3 separate regions of the Homo sapiens genome follow, and all the other regions are linked to region 1. Evidence: promoter capture Hi-C in 16 types of primary human blood cells and fetal thymus (Javierre and others, 2016). All regions are on one chromosome and are shown on one strand. Each heading gives the region's core, a stretch centred on a gene start or on the middle of the fragment in contact. The rest is flanking DNA. Distances are from core to core; before and after follow the strand shown.

Region 1 (4,432 bases), core at 898-3,397:
GCTGACTGATGAGGAAGACATCGGTGTTAACTGCAAGATGATAATAATAACAGCTGATATGTGCTGAGTGCTTACTATGTGTGAGGCACCGTGCTAAGCACTTTCATATGCATTTCTCACGTAACCCTTTCAATAACAACAGCACGAGATAGCTACTTGTATTTATCAACCCTGTTTTATAAATGAAGAGACTGAGGCCCAGAGAGGTTAAATCACTTGCCCAAGGTCATGCCTCTGGTAAGTGGCAGAGCTAGGAGACACATCTGGTCAGTGTGAAGTCAGAGCCCAGTCCTTAACACTGTGCTGATTGTGCTCAAAGACAGGTGGAGAGGTCAGCCACACCTCTGATGGGCCCCAGGAAAGGAATGCTTGCGTGGTGCCACTTTAGGGCCTGCAGAGAGTCGGCAGGCTGGGTGAGGACCCAGAACCTGCCCTTCCTACCTGGGTGGCTCCAAACAGGCAGTCTAATTTGTGTCCCTGTCCAGCTCAGAAAGGTCAGTTTTCCACCTGGGTCTTTCAGTGTGTCTGTATAAAACATGCAAATCTATGAGGGTGAGATATTTGGTTTGGGCTTTCACAAATGTAGCTATGTAGCTATACACTTCCTTTTTCCTTTGAATAAAGTGAGCTCTTGTACTCACTATTCCCTCTCCCTGGAATGCTTCACCCACATTTCTGGTTGCCCCTGTCCCTCCCATCATCTGGGTTTGTGCTCCATGTCACAGGATCAGACCAGCCTCCTTGCCTGTCCTGGGGCAGCAGCCTGCTATCTGCCCCCCATCACTTCATCCTCTCACTTTGCTTTTTACTTATTTTTTATTCTTGTGGGAACATAGTAGGTGTATATATTTATGGGTTACATGAGATATTTTAATACAGGCATGCAATGCATAATAATCAAATCAGGGTAAGTAAGGTATCCATCACCTCAAGCATTTATCCTTTGTGTTACAAACAATCCTATTATACTTTTTTTTTTCTTTTTAGACAGAGTTTTGCTCTTGTTGCCCAGGCTGGAGTGCAATGGCGCAACCTCGGCTCACTGCAACCTCCACCTCCGGGGTTCAAGAGATTCTCTTGCTTCAGCCTCCCGAGTAGCTGGGATTACAGGCATGCACCACCACGCCCAGCTAATTTTGTATTTTTAGTAGAGACAGGGTTTCTTCATGTTGGTCAGGCTGGTCTCGAACTCCCGACCTCAGGTGATCCACCCACCTCGGCCTCCCAAACTGCTGGGATTACAGGCGTGAACCACCGCGTCTGTATTATACTCTTTTGGTTATTTTTAAACGTACAATTATATTATTTTTGACTGTAGTCACCCTGTTGTGCTAGCAAATACTTGGTCTTATTCATTCTTTCTCTTTGCTTTATTACAAAGCAATAGATTTGCCTTCTCAGGTTGTGAGTGTTCAAATAAGTTAGTCTATAAAGCACTGATAAATACTAGGTGCTATTTTAAGCGGTAATCATTTACATGTCATCACGGCATTTATACAACATAGCACACATTACTTTTATCTGCTTTCTTGTGTGTCACCTCCCTGCCTTACTAGAATATAACCTCCACGAGGGCAGGAGAATGATTGGTTTGTTCACTGCTGTATCCGCCAGGGCCTGGCATACAGAACCGTACCCGGCATTCAGAAGGCGCTCAATAAATATATGTTGAATTCAATAAATGAACTGAGGTCTGGAGAGGCAGGAAACGCTTTGGCTTTCATGAATTCTGCAAATATTTACTGAGCACCCACTCAGCACCAGGCAATAGGCTGTCTCATTTTTACAATATTAGCTTGAGACTCTGGCAGGAGGGAGATTTAAATATCAAGTTTTTAGAATAAGATACACAGTGTGAAATGCAGTTTTAAGCGGACACTCCGCTGGGTTTTGAGAGATGCACACTCCCATGTACCTACACTGCCATAAAGAAATAGACCATTGCTTCATCCGGCAGGGCGAGGACTTGGAGCCCAGGTGGCACGAAGGCAACTGACCCGCGGGGTGCTGGTCGCAGGACCCTGCCTCCGGGGGCTGAGGGGGCAACGGCCGGCGGGCGGGCGGGGGCGAGACTACAAGTCCCAGGGTGCTTTGCGCGCCCGCGGGCCGTGCGGAGCGAAGGGGCGGTGCGGAGGGGGTAGGGGGCGCAGCGGCCGCGGCGCGGAGGCGCAGGGCGCGGGCGCCTACGGTTGGCGCGCGGTAGCGATGCCGGGGGCCGGAGCCCGGGCGGAGGAGGGCGGCGGCGGCGGCGAGGGCGCGGCGCAGGGGGCGGCCGCGGAGCCCGGGGCGGGTCCGGCGCGGGAGCCAGCGCGGCTGTGTGGCTATCTGCAGAAGCTGTCGGGCAAGGGCCCCCTGCGTGGCTACCGCAGCCGCTGGTTCGTGTTCGACGCGCGCCGCTGCTACCTTTACTATTTCAAGAGTCCGCAGGACGCGCTGCCCCTCGGCCACTTGGACATCGCGGACGCCTGCTTCAGCTACCAGGGCCCCGACGAGGCGGCGGAGCCGGGCACGGAGCCGCCCGCGCACTTCCAGGTGCACAGCGCGGGAGCCGTCACGGTGCTCAAGGTGGGACCGCTCGCCCCAAAGCCGCCCGCGCGCTTCCGCCGGCGTCCCCTGCCTCCGCCACTGGCTTGCGCCATCCACCCTCCTTCCTCCAAGGCCTCCTCGCCCCTGCCCACGTCGGCCTGCCTTTCCCTGCTTCTCCACATCCCGCCCTCGTTCCTATCTCCTCCCCACTATCTGGGCTTAGGCCAGTCTCGCTGGGGCTACCAAGCCCCGTCTCCTTTCTCAGACACCTTGACCCATTATCTCCCTCTGCGCCTAACCTCGGGCCAGTCTCTGGTGTCTCCCGACCCCCACCATCCCGTGGATGTCCTGTGCAGCCTTCCCAGGCATCCGTGAGCGTAGGCTTCTACCCCTGGGGCCTCCTTTAGAACTTTGCCTATGGCCTTGGTACCTCAGTGAACCGCTCTGGGCTGCAGCGGCCTCCTCTGTAAAATGGGATAACAGTAGTATCTACCTCATGGGGTGTTGGGATTAAATGAATTATACTTTAAACTGCTCAGTAAATGTCAGTGCTTTTATTTATTTGTTTATTTATTCTTTTTGAGACAGGATCTTGTTCTGTTGTCCAGGCTGGAGTGCAGGGGTGCGATCTCGGCTCACTGCAGCCTCCATGCCTGGGCTCAAGAGATCCTCCCACCTCAGCCTCCCAAGTAGCTGGGACCACAGGTGCGGGCCACCACGCCTGGCTAATTAAATTTTTTTTTTTTTTTAAAGAAACGGGGGTCTCACTATGTTGCCCAGGCTAGTCTCGAACTCCTGGGCCGAAACCATCCTCCCCATCCAGCTTCCCAAAGTGCTGGGATGCCAGGCGTGAGCCAGAGTGCATTTAGCACTGTAGACAGAAAGAGTCAGATGGCAGGGCCCTTAGAGACAGTCCACTACATTTTCCTCCAGAGTGGACGGGGATGCTCCAGCTAAGGTCACACAGCCAGTAGGTGGCAGATCCTGTGTTCTTCCTCCTTGCTTTGTCCAGGATGGGTGGGAGGGGGTCTTTTCAGCCAGTTATGCCTTGCTCCTTTGAGGCTCCCTTAATCCTCCAGTGGACAGACAAAATGAGAGATACAGTGTAGAAGCAGGAGAGTAGAGTCAGGAGTCCTGGTGCTGAAAGGCCTCCCCTGTCCTTGGGAGTTCTGGGGGACTAGACTGTCACCTCCTAGGGGCCCACCTGCTTTGAGCATCTGGAGGGATCTGGGCCCAGGCCTGGAGCTGGGTATCCTTTTTCCAGGCTTTGCTCCCTGCCTGGTTTCTGTGAGTCTCCACCCTCACTCTCACTCCTCTTCCGTATTCCAGGTTGGGCTTTCTCCAGAGCAACAGGGTTGGGCTGGGATGTATGAAAGTGCTCTCAAAGCTGGCCACACGGAGAGCAGACTAGGCAAACTCCTGGCCTTGTGAGCTGAGGACTGTTCCTCAGACCCCCAGAGCTGCTAACAGCTGGAGCTGCTCCCTGGAGATGTTCTTAGAGCTTTGCTGACTCAGCTTTTGCCAGTTCAAGCAGGATCTGATTCCCATGTTCTCTTGGGCTCCCCTGTCCTGTCTGTAAGTGGGTGCAGACAGCCTGTTTCCCCAAAGAAAACCAACTCGGGTTGCAGTCCTACACAGGCTTACTTAGAGAGTGCCTGTATAAACTTGGTAATGACCCTAGTGGGAGACCTTTGCCAAAGGCAGAGGCTCTTCCTCAGTGTACATACGGGCTGTCCCTGTGTCGGACGAATTTCCTGTGGGATGTTTGTTAAAGAAAATAGAGCATCGTGTTTCACATTTTTCCCAGATGACTGTAGAACTCTATCAGTTTTTTTCATTAAAATAATCTGAATCTCCTGTAATCCCAGCACTTTGGGAGGCCGAGACGGGTGGATCACGAGGTCAG
Region 2 (4,432 bases), core at 616-3,115, 190 kb before region 1:
TGACAGCCCGTAGCCTGGCAGAGGTGAGATGCAGAAAAATTAGGAAGAACAAATCCCGAGAAAGTCAAAACAGTGGCCTGGGGCCATTGAGCTAAGGGCTAAGAAGTTCCTCATTCACCTCCTGGGGATGAAGTTGCTACTACTCATAATGCATTCTGAAAAGAAAGGCAGGTCATTTATAAAGATTTCAAAACATAAAGAGATGAATTTTGTTGCCTAGAAAATCCCCTGAGCAGGCTGGGAAATGAGGCCATACTGAACATGGCAAGAGTACCCACCTAGAATTAGAGAGCCTGCAGCCCACGCCCAGGTCAGGGAACATGGAGGGCCACAAAGGGAGGGTGGGCAAGAGGAGAGAGGAACACTCTCGGTAAAGGATCACTGACAACCACAGGCGGCGTCATCTACATCCCTCAGCACACTCTGGTGCCTGACCCCAACAACAGAGGAAAAGAAGGCACGATGAACTTCACCTTCCTCTTTTCTATCCACCACTCCATTCGCTACTTCATATGGTATTGGAGGGTGTCAGATAATTACTAAATTTACCAAGAGTTTCCAGGTAGCCTGAGCACTAGACAAGTGATAAACTCTTTAAAGTTAATGATCTCAAAACATGGCAATTGTACCTGGTGGGGTTTTTTGTTTGTTTGTTTGTTTGTTTGAGACAGGGTCTCACCCTGCCGTGCAGGCTGGAGAGCTCACTGCAGCCTCGACTTCCTGGGCTCAAGTTTTCCTCCAGCCTCAGCATCTCAAGAAGTAGCGGAGACTACAGGCATGAGTCACCATGCCTGGCTAAGTTTTTTATTTTTATTTTTTTTGAGATGGGGAGTATCACTATGTTGCCCCGGTTGGTCTTGAAATCCTGGCCTAAAACAATTCTCCCACCTTGGCCTCCCAAAGTGCTGAAATTACAGACATGAACCACCGCGCCTGGCCCAATCATATCCTTTTAAAGCATGATCTATCCTGATTCCAACAACACGTATAATTGTGGAAACCATACAACTTATTTATGTTTCTTTAAAAGCATTTACCTCTTCTCTCTCTAGCCATCCGTCCACCACCACCAAAGAACATGTCAAAGATGTCCATGGGTGAAGAGAAGCTGGGGCTGCCTGAGCCTCCTTCTTTAATTGCCTGCTCTCCGCCTTGGTCATAAACATCCCTTTTCTTTGGATCTGAAAGCACTTCATATGCCTGGGATATGAGTTTAAACTTTAAAAGAGAGAGAGAGAGAGATTTTTAGAGAAGTTTCAGTTGTTTTGTTAAGCAAACCTGCCATATAAACATACAAAGTAATAGAGGTATTCTGCCCCCAAACCCTTGAACTAGCCAGTCTATACATCCTCTACCTGGAATCTGACTTGCCTGTCTACCTACTCCTTTGGTAAAGTGGGAAACACAGGGCAAACATATTAAGGGACTGGTGGTAGGGACACGATAAGAATAAGGGAGAGAAGCCAGTAGAGAGGGAAAGTTTCTCACTAATCCGGCTGCACCAGACAGGAAGTCGAGACCAGCTAGGATACCATGAGACAGTGCCAGGGGTGAACCTCTAACCAGATAGAGCCAGGACTCTGGGCATTACCACTGGCTCACCTCCTCATGGGAATCATTTCACTAGTTTACTAGAATGAAATTCAACTACAGGCATCTGTGAGCATCTAACCACGTGCCAGACATTGGATACAAACCTATACTCCTGATCCTCCCCCAAAAGCCCCGCCCCACCCATAGTCTTCCCCATATCACAGTTATTGGCAATGCCAATCTCACCTGTCAACAAATCCCACTGATGCTACCTTCACATTTGCATCTCCAGTACCCTAAGACAGACACAATATCCCATGTGTAGCATTCCTGCCAAAAAGTTACCACTGGAACCCAATTGTACGAAAAGAATCAGAAAACCCAAATTGAGAGATACTCTAAAATTAAAAGATAGAAAAAAACGAATACAATGTGTGATCCTGGATCAGATCCTGCACAGGGGAGAAAAAAAAAAATGGCTACAAAGGACATTATTGGAACAATGGGAGAAATGTGAATCTTTGTTCCCAATGTTAAACTTCTTGAATTTGATAACTTTACTATGGTTATGTACAAGGATGTCCTTGTGCCCAAGAGAAACACGCAGCACTTAGGGCTGAAAGGTTATGCTATAGGTAGCTTCCTCCCAAAATCTTTAGCCAACAGTAATAATAATAATAGATAAAACAAATGTGACAACTTATTTATAACTGGTAAAGCTAGGTGAAGAATACATAGGTGTTCATTGTATCACTCATGTTTTCTGCAGGTATATGGACATTTTTAAAATAAAATCAGAATGCGAAAACATGCAAGATCTGTTCCTTCTTACCACACCACATCCACTCTGGCTGAAGGCACCATCTCAGGCCTGGACCACTGCAGTGGCCTCCTCCGTGGTCTTCCATGTGCCCTCCTCACCCCAGCTTTCAGTGTGTTCTCCACTCGAGCCCACTAATTGGGTCGATCCTCTGCTCAAACCTCTACAAGGTGGCCCACGTCACTGGGAGTAAAAGCCAGTCCTAACTTTCATCTATAAGCCCAACTTGGCACCTGTACTTTCCTCTCCTCCTGTGTGTCCCCACCCCAATTCTATGCCAGTTTCAGCAGGCTCCCTGCTGTTCCTCAACTCTGCAGTCTGGGCCTCAGAGGCACCTCAGCCTGGTGCGGCCTCCCGACTCATCTCTTTCCAGCCTTAGCTCACAGACCACCTTCTCAGGGATGCCTCCTGGTGATCCAGCTTTAACACTGCAAACCCACCTCAGACCCTCCCAGCCCCCACAACTGCTGCATATTTCTCCATATCATGAACCACCTTCTAACAAGCTGCATCATCTACTGCTTATGCTGTAGCCCCCACTGCAACATAAGCTCCATGAAGATGGGGGGTTTTGTCCACTGCTGTCTAACTGAGCCTGGAACCATGCCTGGCATGTAGAAGGCACTTGGTAAATACCTGTTAGATGAATGGCTCGATTCTGGGAACTCAGAAATAAATAAATGAGGTAGGATCTTGGCCCTCCAGAGGCTACAGTTTAGTCGGAGAGACAAATATGGATATATAGATAAACAGATCCTATAATGCAGCTGGCTCCAAAAAATATTCAGGGAAAAAAAGTGCCATGAAATAAGGAATTTGAGAGAGAGAACAAGGGAATTTGAGGCATTAATTCCCTTGTTCTACAGATCCCTGATTGAAATCTAATAAGTAACCAATAATAATAGCTAATAAATAGCTAAAAAACTACAATTTAGAAAAGTCTTAAAAAGACATCAGCATCATATATAAGGCAGCTAGATCTTTTGATATGTTAATTCTCATACCATTTCTGCGAAGAAGTAAGTACCATTCACTACTATCCCTTTCCTCAGCAGAAAACATGAGGTAGAGTGTAAGGATTGGGTGCCTGGTACAGATCAGAAAGCAACTAGGCCAGGCTGCCCCTAGACAGTTTCTGCGTCTATCTGCAGGTCAGGACTAGGTAAATAACTTCATGGGAACGTCCACCGGAAACACTCACCAAATACCCTGGATACTCACATGTCATTTAGACTTAATAGAATGATCTAAGAATGGAAAAGGAGTACCCAGTTGCTTGGGACATTCAGTCAGAGGCCAGATCTCACATGGGATGGGGGTTCCAACTACCAGTAGGGAGTCCATCCTCTAGGGTCCCAGCACTCCAAAGTCTAATTCAGCTCCCGGCCCGGACCCCCTTCTCCCAGTGGGAGACGAGTGCTATGATGAGCTTGCCTTTCAGACCATGATCATTTGCCACAGAACCTTAACAGGATTACTATACAGCTGAGGGGAAAATGGCTTTGAAGACTACGTAACAACTTGGGAAAAGTACTTATAATAAAATATTAAGTGGAAACAAGAAAACAAAATGTCTATGTATCAGGATGGCCATGTATGATCATACTGGGGAAAGCTTGGAAAGAAGCACAGAGTGGTTAGGATAATGTGTACTTGGTAGGTTTCCCTCTGTGTTCTAAAATTTTCTGCATGGTTTGCTATGTTCTGATTTTTGAACTTGAAAGTCTATTATTCAAACTAAAAGTTACAATGAAATTGACCAAAAGACCAAACTCATCTCAACAGGGTAATAGCCAAGAATATACCCCACATCATTGCCCCTAAAAGGGACTATCTTGGTGACCCACTACCTACCACCCATGCATCTTGCAAAAAAAACAAAAAACAAAAAAAAAACACCCGCAGAGAAGTACAGACTCCATACAGAGTGCCCAAAAAACACAAGGTGCCCCAATGCTTAGCAACAGGGGACAACAGGGCAAAAAACAAAGACCAACATTTCAACGGCCTTCTCAGTTTTCCCAGCAAGGGGTAAAGAACTGGTGTAGTCTATTTTTGAAGAGACGTTAATAATACAGT
Region 3 (4,432 bases), core at 840-3,339, 170 kb before region 1:
GTAGAATGGTGGTTGCCAGGGGTGAGGGGTGGAGGACAGGAAAGGGGAGATGTTGGTCAAAGGGTACAAAGCTTCAGTTGTAAGAGGAATAAGTTTTGGGGATCTAATGAACAGAATGGTGACTATAGTTAATAATAGCGTGTTGCATACTTGGAATTCTCTAAGAGTAGATCTTAAGTGTCCTCACCACACACACAAAAAGTAACTATATGAGCGGATGGATGTGTTCATTAGCTTGATTGTGGTAATCACTTTACAATGTATACATATATCACATTATCACATTGTACACCTTAAATATGTATACATTTTTTGGTCAATTCTACTGCAATAAAACCGGAAGAAAAAAGAAATTATCTCTCCTGGGGAGGGAGAGGGGTGAGCCCAGCCATAGGAAATGCCTGCCTCCCATGACAAGGTTCAGGGACAAGATCCGGCCTCTCCTGGCCCTGGTGCGGCCAGGGATGAGGGCATGATCTGGGGATTCCTAACAAGATAGATGCGTTCTTCTAGGACACTGGATCCTGAGAGAGTGACATCAAGAGGAATTGGAGGAGCCAAGAGGAATTGGAGGCGATTCTTGACAGCTGTGATGGGGCTGGGGGTGACAGGTGGGCTCTGCCTGGCTGACGAGGTGGTCGCCATGTGTATTGCTTCCTGCTTCCTGACTCCCTGGAGCTCCCTGGAAACTGCTCAATCTCAAGCCTGGTGCCCCAGCCTCCTGTCAATTCTGCGAGTCCTCCAACAGCCTTTTGTTAGGTATGGCTATGTGACTGAATTCTGGCCAACGGAAAGAGAAGGAACAGTATGGACACCCCTTCAGGTCCGCAGAATCCTCTGCATGCTCTCTTCGCCCGCCTGCTAGCTACATGTTGGCTGGTCACCTAGGAAGCCAGGCATTGAATGGGTGGGGCCACCCTTGGCCTGGGTCCTGTACTGAGTGACTGTGATCCAGAGCTGCCTCCACTCCCCTCTATCCAGCAGGAACCACTGTGTCGGGCTTTATGTGGGCAAGAAATACATTTGTGTTGTATAAAGCAACTGTTATTTGGGGATTTTCCTAGTACAGCAGCCAACTGTGCCTTAACTAATGTAGCTAGCCAGAGCCAGTTTCTGTTGCCTGCAACCAAACATCCTGGCTGATCAAATATACCTGGTGATCACATATATAAATCTGAAGTACATACACAAAAATGTTAACAATAGCAATCTCCAGATGATGAAATGATGAGTGAGTCTTCTTTTCTTTTGAAACAGGTCTTGGTCTGTCACCCAGGCTGGAGTGCAGTGGTCCAGTCATGGCTCACTGCAGCCTCAACCTCCTAAACTCAAGTGATCCTCTCGCCTCAGCTTCCCTAGTAGCTGGGACTGAAGTCTTGCTTCACCCTACCCAGCTAATTTTAAAAAAAATTTTTTTGTAGAGACAGCATCTTGCCATGTTGCCCAGGCTGGTCTCGAACTCCTGGATTCATACTATCCTCCCACCTCGGCCTCCCAAAGTATTGAGATTACAAGCATGAACCATTGCATCTGGCTGAGTCTTACTTTCTTTTTCTTTTCTTTTTTTTTTTTTTTTTAATGAGACGGGGTCTCGCTCTGTCGCCCTGTCTGGAGTGCAATGGCACAATCTCGGCTCACTGCAACCTCTGTTTCCCCAGTTCAAGTGATTCTCCTGCCTCAGCCTCCCAAGTAGCTGGGATTACAGGCACACGCCACCACACCTGGCTAATTTTTGTATTTTTAGTAGAAGTGGGGTTTCACCATGTTGGCCAGGCTGGTCTCGAACTCCTGACCTCAGGTGATCCACCCACCTCGACCTCGAAAACTGCTGGGATTACAGGCATGAGCCACCACACCCAGCCTTGTTTTCTTATTTTGCTTTTCTATGCATTTCAGTTTTTTTACGGGAACATATGTGCCTTATGTAGTTAGAAAAGAAAACCATTTAAAATAAGCAGATTTGGATTCTCTGAGAACGAATCAGAGACAGAGAAACACTAGCCTCCACACAAAAGGCCAGAGAATCCGGAGAGTCCATTGGATTTGCAAAAGCAGTGGCCCATGGCTCTTGGGGTCTTCTCTGAGCGACTTGGCTTCAACTCCAGCAGTTTCTCCAGCTGTTTCTCACACGTCAAGATCCTTACCCATTTCTCATGTCCTCTCATACTGAGCTGTGCGCAGTATGAAAGGCTGGACCTCCATTCAGCTTATCAAGGCTCTCCTGGCATCTGCTGTTCACACAAGGCAGTGGGAAACCACATGGAAGGGATGACAGACCCCCAAGGCATTAGCCCAGGCCCCTCGCCAGAGGGCCATAGAGCAGCCGCCTCACCCTGCGATCCCTCCCCAACCCCCACTCTCTGGGCCTCATGGGCAGGGGCAGGCCTGAGGCCCCCCTTGGTGAGGTGAGGCTCTCAGGATAAGGTCCCTGTGATCTGTAAAGGTGGGGTCTGCTTTCCCAGGGCTCCCAGCTTCCAACAGCTGGGGGCATTTTTCACTTCATCTTCCCATCCGTCCAGTAGGGTGGGCATGGGCGCCTGCACTTTACTAGTAACAGAAGGAAGAGTGCGGGAGGTGCAGTAATTTGCCCAAGTTCAGGAACAGCTAAAGTGGGGACCCTGCCAAAACCCACCATGTTCTTTCCAGTCCACCACACACCTGTCTCTGAGGCCAAGGTCAAATAATTGGGCCGTTAGTAATGGAGCCAAATCATCGCATGACCACTGTAACAAGGAAGCAGGAAAACATCTCCAGTTCCAACAAAGTCTTGGGCTCTCTCTCTCTCTCTCTCTTTCTCTCTCTCTCTCTCTCTCTTTAAAATAAGGACTCAGGTTAGCTACAGTTCCAGCATTCTGCTGAATTTCTGCAAAAATCATATAACCCACATATACACCCTCCCAATTCATGGATAGAGGAAACTGAGACCCAAAAAGGGGCCACAACTTGCCCAGTGTGCACAGCATCATAATCTAGGCACGTTAAGGCTGGAACCTGGGCCTTCTAACTCTAAGCCAATGCCTCCTACATCACACAGCCACCAGAATAACCCCCAGCACTGTAGTACATTCATTAATAATTTAAAAAATAAACTTACCATAATATAAGGTACACAAAGAAAATGCACAATCCATAAGTGTGTAGTACAATAAATTGTTACAAAGCAGACACGCCTATTTAACCCCCGCCCTGAATCAGAAAGAAAACATTGCCAGCACTCCAGAAGCCCCTGTGCCATCTCCCAATCACTATGCCCTCCAGGTTGCCCCAGGGGAACCCTATCCTGACTTCCAGCATGCAGATTCATTTTGCCTCTTTGTGAACATTAAGTACACAGAGCCATGTAATAGATCTTTTGTATCTGGCTTCATTTGCTCAATATCAAGTTGGTGAGAATTATCAATGTTGCTGGGTTTCATGATGGCTCATTCATTCTCATTGCTGTTCAGTGTTCTGTTGTAGGAACATACCACAGTTTAGCCACCCATTCTACTCTTGGTGGACATTGGGGTTGCTTCTAGTTTGAGGCTATTATGACTCTGCCACAAACATTCTGGGGTGTATATTTTAGCACATGTATGTTCACACTTCTCTTGGATATACCCTTGGGAGTGGAACTGGGGTATGGGCTGGGGGTGGCACCTCAATGCCCCTCTTACCTTCTTCCAGCACACTACTCCCACCAGTGGAGACTCCTGCTTGGTGCTTTGAGAAACCTCAGGTGACCCCCACCCCACCCCACCCCTCATTCCTATGAGACCCTTAGGCTGCCCTGCTGAGAAAGGGCAGTGGACAGCCATGGCATAAATTTGCTGTAGCCACGTGGCTGCTGGGCTGGCTCTGGCACAGCTGTTGAAAAGTGCTCTCCTCTGAGCCCTTCAGATAAGTCTTTTCTCAATTAAACAAAAGCTCTGCAGCTGCCAGTTAGGAACTGCTTCTGTTTGGGCTGCCAGTTAGTGATAATCTGCTCATCCTGCACTGTCTTCTAATCCAGTGTGGCAGCTGGAGTGGCCTCCAATGATGCTACAGCCCCACCCAAGGCAGGGGCTGCACCTCTCTTTTGCACTATCTCCCCTTGGCCTAGCATGGTCCTGGCATGCAGAAAGCTTGGTAAATATTTGAATCCAGCTTTCTAAAATGCCAATCGGACAATGTTGCTGGAAGCCCCAGTGCCCATGTGGTGCTCAGGTAAGGGTGCTGTATTAATTTCCTGTAACTGCTCTAGCAAATGACCACACTTAGTGGTTTGAAACAACATACACTTATCACACAGGTCAGAAATCCAAAGCAAGTCTCACTGAGCTAAAAATCAAGGTGTTCACAGGGCTGTATTCCTCCCGGAGGCTCTAGGGGATAGATAATCTGTCTCCTTGCTTTTTCAGCTTCTAGAAGCCACCTGCATTCCTTGGCTTACGGCCTCCTCTCTTTCTTTCTT

Evidence for each region. The method cuts DNA at HindIII sites, captures the fragments that hold promoters and counts their contacts. A CHiCAGO score of 5 or more calls a contact.
Region 2: a fragment that was not itself captured here is called in contact with the fragment with the promoter of TBC1D2B in region 1 in 2 of 17 cell types (total CD8 T cells and non-activated CD4 T cells); the score reaches 6.4 in total CD8 T cells.
Region 3: a contact is called between a fragment that was not itself captured here and the fragment with the promoter of TBC1D2B in region 1, in 4 of 17 cell types (total CD8 T cells, activated CD4 T cells, fetal thymus and 1 more). The highest score is 5.7, in total CD8 T cells.

Annotation. Positions count from the first base shown.
Region 1 is chr15:78,075,426-78,079,857 of GRCh38, reverse strand. TBC1D2B (TBC1 domain family member 2B) reads left to right here and starts at 2,147. Exons shown (of 13, transcript NM_144572.2): 1 at 2,147-2,565. The coding sequence starts at 2,206. RefSeq lists silencers at 1,862-1,911, 2,062-2,271, 2,472-2,671. The HindIII fragment of the contact is 13,244 bases long and covers 1-4,432 here.
Region 2 is chr15:78,267,283-78,271,714 of GRCh38, reverse strand. It overlaps DNAJA4 (DnaJ heat shock protein family (Hsp40) member A4), which reads right to left. Exons shown (of 7, transcript NM_001130182.2): 2 at 1,038-1,218. Among named protein-coding and RNA genes, the nearest start is that of DNAJA4, 4.9 kb to the right of the region's middle. The HindIII fragment of the contact is 4,210 bases long and covers 1-3,970 here.
Region 3 is chr15:78,247,599-78,252,030 of GRCh38, reverse strand. No RefSeq gene overlaps it. Among named protein-coding and RNA genes, the nearest start is that of DNAJA4-DT, 14 kb to the left of the region's middle. The HindIII fragment of the contact is 4,032 bases long and covers 74-4,105 here.